Regions from separate parts of the Homo sapiens genome. Here region 2 is linked to region 1. The links are contacts of gene promoters, found by promoter capture Hi-C in blood cells and fetal thymus (Javierre and others, 2016). All regions are on one chromosome and are shown on one strand. The core of a region is centred on a gene start or on the middle of the fragment in contact, and the rest is flanking DNA. Distances in the headings are between cores, read along the strand shown. Region 1 overlaps FXR2 (FMR1 autosomal homolog 2). Region 2 holds the start of TMEM256 (transmembrane protein 256).

The links. The method cuts DNA at HindIII sites, captures the fragments that hold promoters and counts their contacts. A CHiCAGO score of 5 or more calls a contact.
Region 2: a contact is called between the fragment with the promoter of TMEM256 here and a fragment that was not itself captured in region 1, in 11 of 17 cell types (total CD8 T cells, naive B cells, naive CD4 T cells and 8 more). The highest score is 7.7, in total CD8 T cells.

The regions. Positions count from the first base shown.
Region 1 is chr17:7,592,712-7,599,107 of GRCh38, forward strand. It overlaps FXR2 (FMR1 autosomal homolog 2), which reads right to left. Exons shown (of 17, transcript NM_004860.4): 8 at 3,113-3,283; 9 at 1,968-2,046; 10 at 1,527-1,636; 11 at 1,207-1,293; 12 at 692-914; 13 at 273-470; 14 at 1-183. Among named protein-coding and RNA genes, the nearest start is that of SOX15, 5.8 kb to the left of the region's middle. The HindIII fragment of the contact is 5,554 bases long and covers 1-4,748 here.
Region 2 is chr17:7,399,918-7,406,313 of GRCh38, forward strand. TMEM256 (transmembrane protein 256) reads right to left here and starts at 4,180. Exons shown (of 4, transcript NM_152766.5): 1 at 4,083-4,180; 2 at 3,741-3,772; 3 at 3,393-3,473; 4 at 3,058-3,292. The coding sequence starts at 4,167. The coding sequence ends at 3,149. TMEM256-PLSCR3 (TMEM256-PLSCR3 readthrough (NMD candidate)) reads right to left here and starts at 4,214. Exons shown (of 10, transcript NR_037719.1): 1 at 4,083-4,214; 2 at 3,741-3,772. It also overlaps a transcript of NLGN2 not described here. RefSeq lists an enhancer at 3,989-4,168 and a silencer at 4,659-4,988. The HindIII fragment of the contact is 6,317 bases long and covers 3,888-6,396 here.

The DNA.
Region 1 (6,396 bases), core at 722-3,221:
TGTTGGGCCCATCTGATTCCAGGCCTCCATCCATGACGGTCCTGTCTTCATCAGTGCGGCGGCGGCGGGAGCGGCGGCGCCTGGCACTTGCTGGGGGGGGTTCCCCAGGTTCTGAATCAACCGGGGGCTCTGGTTCAGACGTGTCCAATAGGCTGTAGGGATTACTGTCTGGATCCTTCAGCACTGGTCAGAGGAAGAAGAGGAGGAGTTGGCAGTCAGGTGCCCATCATCTTTCCTTTTGGCCCATATTCATGAACCCAGCTGTCTGGTACCTGAGCTAATAGATGAAGAATTGTATCTCGAAGTGGGCCGGGGGGCAGGTGGGGGTCCCCTACCCCGGCCCCCAGTCGGCCGCCTCCGGCTTTCTTCCCCTCGGGTTGGGGGATCCCTGTCGCCAGGCCCAGCTCGGTTGGGCTCCTCTCTCTTCTCTGACTCAGTCTCTGAAGCTGTAGACACATCTGAGCTGGGGCCTGAAGAACACAATGGGATTTATTCACGGCCATTCATCCCACCTCAGGATCCATCACATCCCCCAAACTGGAAGAATTCTCCTTCTCACTCACAAGCCTCCCAGCCAATCAATCACTTTTTCATCATCTCCATTCCAGATTTCCCCAAACTTCCATCCAGACCTCTGCCTCTACCCACAAGCCCTGCCACTCCTTGCCTCCTGTTCCCATAACTGTCTCACCATAGGCAGGACCGCCTGTCCTCCGGCCACGGCCACGGCCCCCATAGCTGCCCCCATAGGTTCGAGTCGCATGGAGGGAGGAGGAGGAGCTCTCATCAGTGCTATATCCAGCCTTGTCGCTGCCACCGCTGCCCCGCCCACTCCCAGGAGGGCGAAAGCCCAGCCCAATCTGCCGAAGCTGCTCATCAATTTGTAGCCTCTCCAAGCGAAGCTGCTCTACCTCCTGGTTGGGTAAAAGATGGAAGAAGGGGAAGGAGAAATAAGATCAGTGCCTTGCTTCATGCTTCTGCACCCTGACTGTCCCTCTATATCTAACCTCTCAGGAATGCAGGGAGAAGGAAGACACTGGCTAAACAAGGAAAATTCTGGGACCCAACCCTATAGCCCCAAATTTCCACAGATGTTTTCTGTTCTACACGGAGAGACAAACAGAGAACCAAAATCCCTGAGCTGACCCCCACAGCAGTCTTAGTTCCCTTTTCACACCCAGCATTTTTCTCTCCCGGCCTGGGTACCTGCAGGTAGGAGAGGTGATACTCCAGCAAAGCCTGGGCATTGCTGATGTTCTCTCGGGTGCCAACAAAAATGAAGGGAACCATTCCCTAGAGAACAGAGAGCAGAAACGATGGATCAGAAAGGAAAATGAAATGGAAGGATTAACGCCGCCCAGTCTCCTAGGGGAGCCTGCCCAGTGGGATCATTCTGGGCTCTAAATCTACTAGTGTTAAACAACTTTCCGTACTCCACCCTCTCAAAGAACAATCCCAGCCCTCAGAGGACAATCCCATTTACTTCTGGAAACCAATCTCTATGCCCACTTGCCCCGTACCCATACCTCCTCCCTGGGGTTCTTCTTGTCATTATCACCTTCCACTCGAACCCTCACCACACCAGATTTATCCACAATCTCCTGGATCACTTTCCCGTTCTTTCCAATCACTTTGCCTGGAATAGGTAAATGAGGAATTCAGCCTTTTATTTTTTTTAAGGAAATAAGAATAAAGCTGATACACCGTCTTCCAGCCTCATTTTCTTTATATGGATTCCATTTACTTCATTCTCCTGCTTCTAGGTTTCTGATGTGTTTTTACAGGACAAAATGTTACAATCCCTAGAAATTTATTCTTTCATTTTTATCACTCCCATTACAGACTGTTTCTCTGTCCTTGTGAAACTGGGAGTCCACAGGGAGGTGCCAATCCTGGATAAAAGCTCAGAATCACTGTAGAGAATCTTGATTCTGACCTCTAACTGTATATACACACCACCAACTCACCAACCAGGTTCCTGGGCACTTGCACTGAGTCCTCAGAAAACTCAAGGTAGCTTCGGGCCTGTCGGCAAGCCTCGGGAGTCTAAAGGAAGAACAGCAGGGAGTTGTTACTAAAACAGAAGACCAGCTGGATGTGGTGGCTCACGCCTGTAATCCCAGCACTTTGGGAGGCTGGAGGCAGGTGGATAAATTGAGCTCAAGAGTTCAAGACTAGCCTGGGCAATATGGTGAAACGCCATCTCTACTAAAAATACAAAAATCAAAATACAAAAATACTAAAATACTAAAAATACAAAATTGGTGGCTCACGTCTCTAATCCCAGCTACTCCGGAGGCTGAGGCAGGAGATTTCTTGAACCCAGGAGGCAGAGGTTGCAATAAGCTGAGATTGTGCCACTGCACTCTAGCCCGGGCAACAGAGTGAGTTAGACTCCATCTCATAAAAAAAAAAAATTAAACAAATAAATAACTTAAAAAAAAAAACAGAGGACCTTGGCCAGGCACAGCGGCTCACACCCATAATCTCAACAGTTTCGGAGGCTAAGAAGGGAGGATTGCTTGAGGCTAGGAGTTAACAACCAGCTTGGGCAACAGAGATCTGGTCTATTTTTTTGATTTTTTGGTCTCACTCTATTGACTATGTTGCCCAGGTTGGTTCAGTGGCACCATCATGGTGTACTGCAGCCTTGACTTTCCAGGCTCAAGTGATCCTCCTGCCTCCGCCTCCCAAGTAGCCAAGTAGCTGGGGCCACAGATGCATGCCACCACGCTCAGTTAACGTTTTTTGGTTTTTGGTTTTTTTGGGGGGTAAAGACAGGGTCTCTCTATGTTGTCCAGGTTGTTCTCCAACTCCCAGGCTCAAGTGATCCTCCCCTCTATCTTCCCATTTCAGCCTCCCAAGTACCTGCGACTACAGGTACGCACCACTACTTCCAGCTAATTTTTAAATTTTTGTAGAGATTGGGTCTCACTATGTTGCACAGGCTGGTCTCAAACTCCTAGGCTCAAGTGATCCTCTCACTTTGACCTCCGAAGGTGCTGGGATTACAGGTGTGAGCCACTGTGCCCAGTTTGAGGCTTATTTTCTACTTCGGCCTCTCTTCCCTCTATCCCCTAAGAGACCCAGAAGAAAGACATCCTTTGCTGACCTCCCCATAGATGCGGAAAGTGCAGGTCTCTTCACCCAACTCAATGGCGGTCACCCCAGGTACTTTTCGGGCCTGCTGGATGTTGGCACCGTGAGTCCCAATTGCCAGTCCCATCAGGTCCTCTCGCACTGTGAACTCCTCTTGGAAGGCTGCTGCCAACTGCTTGCTTGTCTGAAAGGAAAAGTCACTGTAGGAATCATGGTGGTAGAATCTCACAGTCCCAGGCACACGACCCTTTGCATAACTTAAATAAGGAAAACTGTGTGATATTAATAGAAAGCTAGAACCACTCTGGAGTCCGCGGACCACGAGGACCTGTGTGGAAAGGTCAGGAACTTTTTGTTTTTTCTTTGAGATGGCGTCTCGCTCTGTCGCCCAGGCTGGAGTGCAGTGGCGCGATCTCAGCTCACTGCAACCTCCGCCTCTCGACTTCAAGTGATTCTCATGCCTCGGCCTCCTGAGTAGCTACGACTACAGGTGTCCACCACCATGCCTGGCTAATTTCTGTATTTTTAGTAGAGACAAGGTTTCACCATGTTGGCCAGGCTGGTCTCAAACTCCTGACCTCAGGTGATCCGCCCGCCTCAGCCTCCCAAAGTGCTGGGATTACCGGCATAAGCCACCACGCCCGGCCAAGGTCAGGAACTTTTAATTCCACTCCTTCCAAATACCAGTGGTTTGTGGGGGAGGAAAGGTAAAGAGGGCAGAGTTTGGACTGGGACACACCGAAGTTCTGGATTTGGCCCTAACAGTATCTGTCCCTAAGAGTATCTATCTGTGTGATCTTAAACAAAACATACTCTGCCTCTTGTGTCATCTGCTAAGTGATTATATCCAACTTATCTTATTCTCAAGACTAGCAAGAGGATTAGACAAGGCTGGTGTGAAAGTACTTCTCACAAGGTACATGCAAGTGTAAGGAACTCTTACCTTAATCAAACAAATATCAACTCATCCCCAAATAAAACTCAACAACTTAAGTAAAAAGTGAGGGGTAGGCTGTGCGCGGTGGCTCACGCCTGTAATTCCAGCACTGTGGGAGGCTGAGGCAGGTGGATCACAAGGTCAGGAGATCAAGACCATCCTGCCAACATAGTGAAACCCCATCTCTATTAAAAATACAAAAATTAGCTGGCCTTGGTGGGGTGTGCCTATAATCCCAGCTGCTTGGGAGGCTGAGGCAGGAGAATTGCTTGAACCAGGGAGTTGGAGGTTACAGTGAGCCGAGGTCATGCCACTGCACTCCAGCCTGGTGACAGAGCAAAACTCTGTCTCAAAAAAAAGTGAGGGGTTAAGAAAAACAGAAAACATGCCTCTAGAACACCAGGCTTTCACTTCATTTCTCAATCAGTCCTTAGAGGAACCCCTGGGTTCAGGGGCAGGAAGACAGGAAAGGTTTTAGAGGAGTGAATCCCATGTTGTAAGCACCAAATAGAAACAATACCTGAAAGGAGACATTCCTAGATTGAAATACACTACTTCCCACTTCCAAGTTGGATAGGACTGAATTATACCAAGGATTTATACCAGGCAAGAAGAGAAAGTTGGAAAAATAAACTAAGTTGAGTGTTCAAAATCACTACATTAGGAGGGGAGGGGAAGAGATCTACAATGACCTATAAGCGTCTTCTAGATAAGCTTGCAGAACAGCTGGGTTTTCTTTTTTTTTTTTCTTTTTTTTGAGATGGGGTCTGTCACCCAGGCTAGAGTGCAGTGGCATGATCTCTGCTCACTGCAACTTCTGCCTCCCTTTTTTTGTATTTTTAGTAGAGAAGGGGTTTCACCATGCTGGCCAGACTGGTCTCAAACTCCTAACCTCAGGCAATCCACCTGCCTCGGCTTCCCAAAGTGCTGGGATTGCAGGCGTGAGCCGCTGCACCCGGCCCCTTTCCGGTTTTTAGAGGCTTCACTACTAGGCATGACTGATTAAATCACTGATCCTCAGTGATTGCCTTAACCTTTGGCCCCATTCCCCTCCCAGGAAGTTGGTGGGGGTGAGGCTGAAAGTTCCAACCCTCTAATCATGAAGCCACCTAGAGGGGCTAGCCATGAATCAACTCATCAGCACACAAAAACACACATCACTGGAGATTCCAAGGATTTTAGAAGTTGAATGCCAGGAGCCTGGTCAGGAGACCAAATATGTATCTCTCAGTATCACAGAGCCTGTCAGTCCTACTGGTTTTACTCGTAAAATTTATCCTACATAAAACTACTCTCTCTCTCTTCCTTTAGCACTCCAGTTCAAGTTTCTCACCTGGACTACTGTGCTCTGTTCCTGCTTCCATTCTTGCCCCCCTTTCCATCTGTCATTGAAACAGGAGTTTAAAACAGAAGGCACTTTCGGCCGGGCACAGTGGCTCTCGCCTGTAATCCCAGCACTTTGGGAGGCCGAGGTGGGTGGATCACGAGGTCAGGAGATCAAGACCATCCTGGCTAACACGGTGAAACCCCATCTCTACTAAAAAAAAATACAAAAAAATCAGCCGGGCGTGGTGGCAGGCGCCTGTAGTCCCAGCTTCTCGTGAGGCTGAGGCAGGAGAATGGCGTGAACTTGGGAGGTGGAGCTTGCAGTGAGCCGAGATCACGCCAATGCACTCCAGCCTGGGTGACAGAGCGAGACTCCGTCTCAAAAACAAAACAAAACAAAACAAAACAAAAAACCAGAAGGCACTGTTAACTCAATGGCTTCTCAGTATACGCACAATAAAATCCCCCCTCCTCAGCCTACCGTACATGTCTTACATGATCTACTCTCTGACCGAATTTTGTATCGGTCTCCCTTTGCTCACTCTGCGCTAACTACACAAGCTGCAGTGAGCTGAGATCGCACTACTGCACTCCAGCCTGGACGACAGAATGAGACTCCGTCTCAAAAAATTAAAAAACAACAACAAAAATTAGGCCGGGTGCAATGGGTCATGTCTATAATCCCAGCACTTTGGGAGGCCAAGGCAAGTGGATCCCTTGAGGCCAGGGGTTCGCGACCAGCCTAGCCAACATGGTGAAACTCCGTCTCTACTAAAAATACTGAAATTAGGGCCAGGTATAGTGGCTCATGCCTGTAATCCCAGTACTTTGGGAGGCCAAGGCAGGTGGATCACCTGCGGTCGGGAGTTCAAAACCAGCCTGGGCAACATGGTGAAACACTAAAAAAGCAAAAATTATCCAGACGTGGGGGCGCGTGCCTATTATCCCAGCTACCTGGGAGGCCGAGGCACAAGAATCGCTTGAACCCAGGAGCGAGAGGTTGCAGGGAGCGGAGATTGTGCCATTGCACTCCA
Region 2 (6,396 bases), core at 2,930-5,429, 190 kb before region 1:
TTGTACTGTCTTCTGAGGGCAAAGGGGAGCCAATGAAGCATGTATATCCAGGGAGATGGCATAATTTGAGGTACACTCGTAGATCACAATATTTCTTCATTTTAAAGATGAGTCAGAGGCCAGGCACAGTGGCTCATGTCTGTAATCCCAGCACTTTGGGAGGCCGAGGCGGGCGGATCACCTGAGGTCGCGAGTTTGAGATTAGCCTGACCAGCATGAAGAAACCCTGTCTCTACTAAAAATACAAAATTTGCCGGGCATGGTGGCGCATGCCTGTAATTCCAGCTACTTGGGAGGCTGATTCAGGAAAATTGCTCGAACCCAGGAGGCGGACATTGTAGTGAGCCGAGATCGCACCATTGCACTCCAGCCTGGGCAACCAGCGAAACTCTGACTCAAAAAAAAAAAAAAAAAAAAAAAAGATGAGTCAGGAACCAGACATGTGTTCCTCCAAACTCAGCCTCCCGAGTAGCTGGGCCTGCAGGCTACAGGCACAAGCCACTACACCTGGCTATTTTTTTTTTTTTTTTTTTTTGAGACGGAGTCTGGCTCTGTCGCCCAGGCTGGAGTGCAGTGGCGCCATCGCGGCTCACTGCAAGCTCCGCCTCCCGGGTTCACGCCATTCTCCTGCCTCAGCCTCCCGAGTAGCTGGGACCACAGGTTCCCACCACCATGCCCGGCTAATTTTTTTGTATTTTTAGTAGAGACAGGGGTTTCACTGTGTTAGCCAGGATGGTCTCGATCTCCTGACCTCGTGATCCACCCGCCTCAGCCTCCCAAAGTGCTGGGATTACAGGCATGAGCCACCGCACCTGGCCATGGCTATTTATTTTTATTTTTATTTTTATTTATTCATTTATTTATTTTTTGAGACGGAGTCTCGCTCTGTCGCCCAGGCTGGAGTGCAGTGGCACTATCTCGGCTCACTGCAAGCTCCGCCTCCTGGGTTCATGCCATTCTCCTGCCTCAGCCTCATGCCATTCTCCTGCCTCAGCCTCCCGAGTAGCTGGGACTACAGGCGCCCGGCACCACGCCCAGCTAATTTTTTTTTGTATTTTCAGGAGAGACGGGGTTTCACCGTGTTAGCCAGGATAGTGTCGATCTCCTGACCTTGTGATCCGCCCACCTCGGCCTCCCAAAGTGCTAGGATTACAGGCGTGAGCCACCACGCCTCGCTATTTTTTTATTTTTGTAAAGACAGGGGTCTCCCTGTGTTATCCAGGCTGGTCTCGAACTCCTGGGCTCGAGCAATGTTCCCACGTCCGCCTTCCAAAATGTTGGGATCACAGGCTTGAGCCATCGCACAGGGTCCTCTCTGTTCCTTTCCTTTCAGCATGCAGCACAATTTGTAATGATACATGTTTTGCAAATTTTATAAATGTTTAGTTATTTCAGGTCCATTTCCACTACTAGATGGGAAACTCCTTGAGGGAGGGGATATCTGTCTCCCTCAGGGTTGATCTTCCTTGTAACGTGTCTGACGCATGATCAACACTGGTTTAATAAATACTGTGCCTGCCAGGAGCAGTGGCTCACACCTGTAATGCCAGCACTTTGGAAGGCTGAGGCAGGTGGATCACTTGAGGTCGGGAGTTTGAGACCAGCCTGGCCAACATGGCAAAACCCCGTCTCTACTAAAAATACAAAAATTAGCCGGGCGCGGTTGCGGGCGCCTGTAATCCCAGCTACTCGGGAGGCTGAGGCAGGAGAATCACTTGAACCCGGGAGGCGGAGGTTGCAGTGAGCTGAGATCGTGCCACTGCACTCCTGCCTGGGTAACAGGGCAAGACTGCGTCACAATAAATAAATACTGTCCCCACTAAATATCTTCCAGTTCTCTACATGCTGTGACTGCCACTCCAGCCTGTCCTGCCACCTTTTCTCACTCCTTTCCTACCTAACTCAAACTCAGCCCACATTGAAGACTCCTGCTTCTCCAAACCCCTCCCCTCTCCATCTTGTTCTTTGTTCATTGTTTCTTCCATACAATAGAGCTCCTTTAAGGATCATCTCAAGCATTGTGACACATTTTCTGATCCCCAATACATGATCTGTCCCTGCTTTGAACCCCAAAGTATTTTGTAACTAATGACACTCCTATCCTGCCTTGCCTTAATCCTCACTTCTAGAGTAAGTGGGTGCTGATAACAACAGGGCTGAAAACCATGACCCTATAGTAATTTTTTAAAATCCCAGTACTTTGGGAGGCTGAGGCGGGTGAATTGCTTGAGGTCAGGAGTTCAAGACCAGCTTCGCCAATATGGTGAAACCCCATCTCTACTAAAAATACAAAAATTAGCCAGGCATGGTGGCATGCACCTATAATCTCAGCTACTTGGGAGGCTGAGGCAGGAGAATCACTTGAACTCAGGAGGTGGAGGTTGCAGTGAACCAAAATCGCACCACTGCACTCCAGCCTGGGCAACAGAGTGAAACTCTGTCTCAAAAAAATAAAAATAAAAATAAAAACAGGCCGGGCGTGGTGGCTCATACCTGTAATCACAGCACTTTGGGAGGCCAAGGCAGGCGGATCACCTGAGGTCGGGAGTTCAAAACCAGCCTTGCCAACATGGCACAACCCCGTGTCTACTAAAAATACAAAAAATTAGTTGGGCATGGTGGCAGGCGCCTGTAATCCCAGCTATTCAGGAGGCCGAGGCAGGAGAATCGCTTGAACCTGGGAGGCAGAGGTTGCAGTGAGCCGAGGTCGCGCCACTGTATTCCAGCCTGGGCGACAGAGCAAGACTCCATCTCAAAATAATAATAATAATAATAATAAAATTAAAAACCTAGTATGCATCAGAACCACAAGATGAGCTTATTAAAATACAGATTCTCAGGCCCGAAAGAGTGCTTCAGTAGGAATCTGTGTTATTTCAAGCATTCTTTATGACTTTGATGCCCACCAGGGTAAGAACATTATAATAAGTTAACTTAAAGTGACCAGAATCCCCAGACCTAAGGCTCACTGATTAAGTCTTAGGAAATGGAGGGAGTTCAGAGGTTGAATCCCCACCCTTCGTCCTCCAAGAGGTTAGATGAACAAAGACTCCAAAGTTTATTTGCCTTTCCTTTTTAATCCTCTTCTTACTCCAACTCTTTAAAAAAAAAACTGCCCAGAAAACCCAGTAATTAAGCAAAAGGGAGCTCAAAGAGCCAAGGCAAGCCAGCCCAAGAGTAGCAGGGTCCCTCCCGCAGGGGCCAAAGTCTGGATGCTGGGGTCTCCACTCAGAGCCTGGTAGTAAAAGCTGGTGCAGAATAAGGTCGTTCCGGAAGCTAGCAATAACCCAGCCTGAAGGAGACACAGCACAGAAAACAGGATTGTTAAGAACAGGGCAGGCTGAGAGGGAGTGTGTGGGGCTTGGTCAGGGTTAGGCGCAGGGAAAGATTACCCAGAGTGGCTTTCTGCAATGGGGCACCCCTAACAGGGCCAGGCTGTGTAAGAAGTGGTGTTTGTTGGCCTTGTCAAACAGCTGTAAGAAAAACAGAAACGAAGGGATGTCGTAGGCAATACAGGTACTGAGATCCCCTGATGACACAAGGGACCAAAGTTCCTTCCCCCACCCCACCCTTGAAGTCCCAGCTTGATCCCAGGCCTTTGGCTTACAGAGCCTTTGGCCTTTGCTGCTCCAGAGATCCGCGGCTCGCCCCACCCTCTCCCCGCCCACTTCCCCCAGGGACCCCAGACTTTGTGCCTTCGTAGACCCACGAGTCAGGGAGCCCCAGCGCAGTTACTTCACCTCCTTCCCGTAGGCATCTGGGAATTGGGCGCCTGTGGAGAAAAGAAGCAAAGGTTAGCGGTCCTAGTGCCAGCCCTGACCGCCCCCAATCCGGGGGGACCCAGGTGGACATTGGCGAGAAAGGGCACCCCCCCCCCCGCCCCAGGAAGCTTCCGATTGGTGGGAACACGCTCGGGCAGTACTGGGAACCAATTGGACCCAGCTGGGGGACTTTAAAAGGTTTAGGGCTCCGCGGACTGTCTGATAAACGAGAGGCCGGGCACCTCCCATAGGTTACGCCCTTGCAGCAGACCCCAGAGGACGCCCCAAGTACAGTCCCATCTTCGTCCCCAGCCCCCTGACCGTGCGCCCCGTAGGAAGCGAAGCCTAAGGCCGCAGCTCCGGACAAGGCGCCCAAGCGGCGGAAAGCTGCAGCTGGCCCGGCCATAGCTGTAGAACAGGACGCACCGGACCAACGCCGCCCAGGCCACCCAAGAGGCCAGCCAATCCCGACCGCCCATGCAAATAAGGTTCACAGGCGCCCAATCCGGGCCGTGTTCATTTCAGCATTGCGCTCTTCACCCGCCTTTGTAAAACCGCTGCAGAGTGGCGAAGACGTCTGGCGGGCGGAGAAACCAGCACCAATTAGGAACAGAGGAGCTAAGCAGTGGGGGGGCGGGGTTGAGGGCGGGACTAGGGGGATTTGCGTCAAGGATTGGCCCACTTTCCAAGTTGATCGCCTCTTCGAACCCCCCACCCCCATGCTCCGGCCAATTTCCAAAGATCCCGGTCTTCTCTCAAAGTTCCGCCCCTTTTTCCACAGGCTCCTCCTGTTCAGCTTCAAATCAAACCCACTACCAAAAAGAGGCGGCCCGAAAGATAGCAAAGCCCCACCTATTGCCAGTAAACCCCGCCCACTGCACAAATGGCCCCTCCCCCATGTCTGAAGGCTCCGCCTTCTTTGTATGATGCCCCGCCCCCTGTAGTTAAGATATTCTCCCCCCCGCCAGCCCTCCGAGACCGCGAGAGCCCCGAGGGTGGGAGATCCGGGGGAATGTCTCCACCCTGCCCTGGCCCGCTACGTCCATCTGTCCGTCTGTCCGCTCCCGCCTCTTCCCACCATCTCCAATCCCCCCATTCTCCGGAGGGCGGGCGGGCAGGCGGGTGCGAGCGGGGGGTGCGAGCGGGGGGTGTGCGCCGCTCTCTCGGCAGGGGGCGGGGGAGGCGGCCGCGCGGTGACGCGCGGGGCTGCTGCGGCTGCTCCGCCGGCGGATCATCACTCTCGGGCTGGGATGGACGCGGGGCGGGCCGGCCCTGGCGCGCGGAGCCAGGAGTCCGGGCCTCCCGGCTGCTGAGCGTCCCTCGAAGCCTCCCCTCACCCCCGCCTTCCCTCCTAGGATCCGCGCTGACCCCCGCCCCGGGGCTCTGGACTCGGCTCCCGCCCTCCTCTGACTCCCCGGACCTCCCCCTCACGCCCGCCCTCGGGATCGACTAGATCCCTCCCCCTCCCCGAGGATTCCGGCTGGATCCCTGCCCCTGCACCGCGGATCCTGCGCTCCCGGGCCCCGGGCCCCTGGGGATTAACGTGGACTCCTCCTCCAGCACCCGATCCTTAGGATCCTCCGCCTGGACCGCCTTCTGGTCCCTCGAAGCCGGCCCACGGAACCAGCGGATCCTCAATCTAGTCCTGTCCCGTTGCCCCCTCCTTTCTCTATCGTCCCTACTGCGGGGTTCCCTGTTCTCGGGCTCCCCCTGATCCCATCCCCTAGCTCTCCTTTTCCCGGGGATCGACTGGATCCCGGCCCCGCCCCCCGGGGCTGGGGCGATCCCCCTCCCCCGCCGGGTGAGGCGCTGCGGGCGGGGGCTGGGCCTGCGGGGCCGCGGGGGCTCAGAGGCCGCCGCCCCCTCCCGAAGGCCTTTCGCCCCCCACTCGGAGCCCTGGATGGAGGCACCACGGCCCCAGGGCTGAGCCAGGTAGGACCTAAGCCGGGTCGGTGGAGGGGGCTGCGTGGCGGTCCACTGGGGTCTCCCTCTCCCCATCTCCCTCCCTGCGCCTGGTTTCCCCCAGCCTGCTCTGTCTGCGTGTCTCCGCCTAGGGATGCTCTCGCCGTGTCTCTGCGTCTTGGTCTCTTTGTCTCTGCCTCTCTCCAGTCCATGAATGATCCTTTGAATGGGCCCACAGACCCCGTGTGTTCCCATCTCCCCCTCCCCCTCCTTCTCCCCTTCCCAGCCAAGCCATTTTCACCACTGCAGGAAGGGGGGGCCTGCGGCCTGAGCCCCCGTCCCTCAACTCTCCCCGGCTGGGGGAGTCAGGCCTGGGCAGGAATGGAGAGAGAAGGCAGAGGGATAGGGAGAAGGAGGAGGGAGCAAGATGTGGCAGACAGAGATGAGGAGAGAAAATGGGGGAGACAGTGATGGGGAAAGACAGGAGAGAGAGACAGAAGGCTTAAGGGGGAAATTTGGGGAAGGCATTTGGAGAGAGAGAAAGAAATGAGAAACACCAAGGAGAGAGATACAGAAGAGAAAGATGTAAAAAGACCGAGGGTGAGAGACTGAAGGCAAGAGCTGGGGCAAGCTGGAAGAGGCCCACAAAAGATGCTCCCAGGGAGCACTACGGAGAGGAGAGAGATGGGGGGGCCTCCAGTGGGAGGGAAGGAGGGAGCGGAGCTGGTGGGAG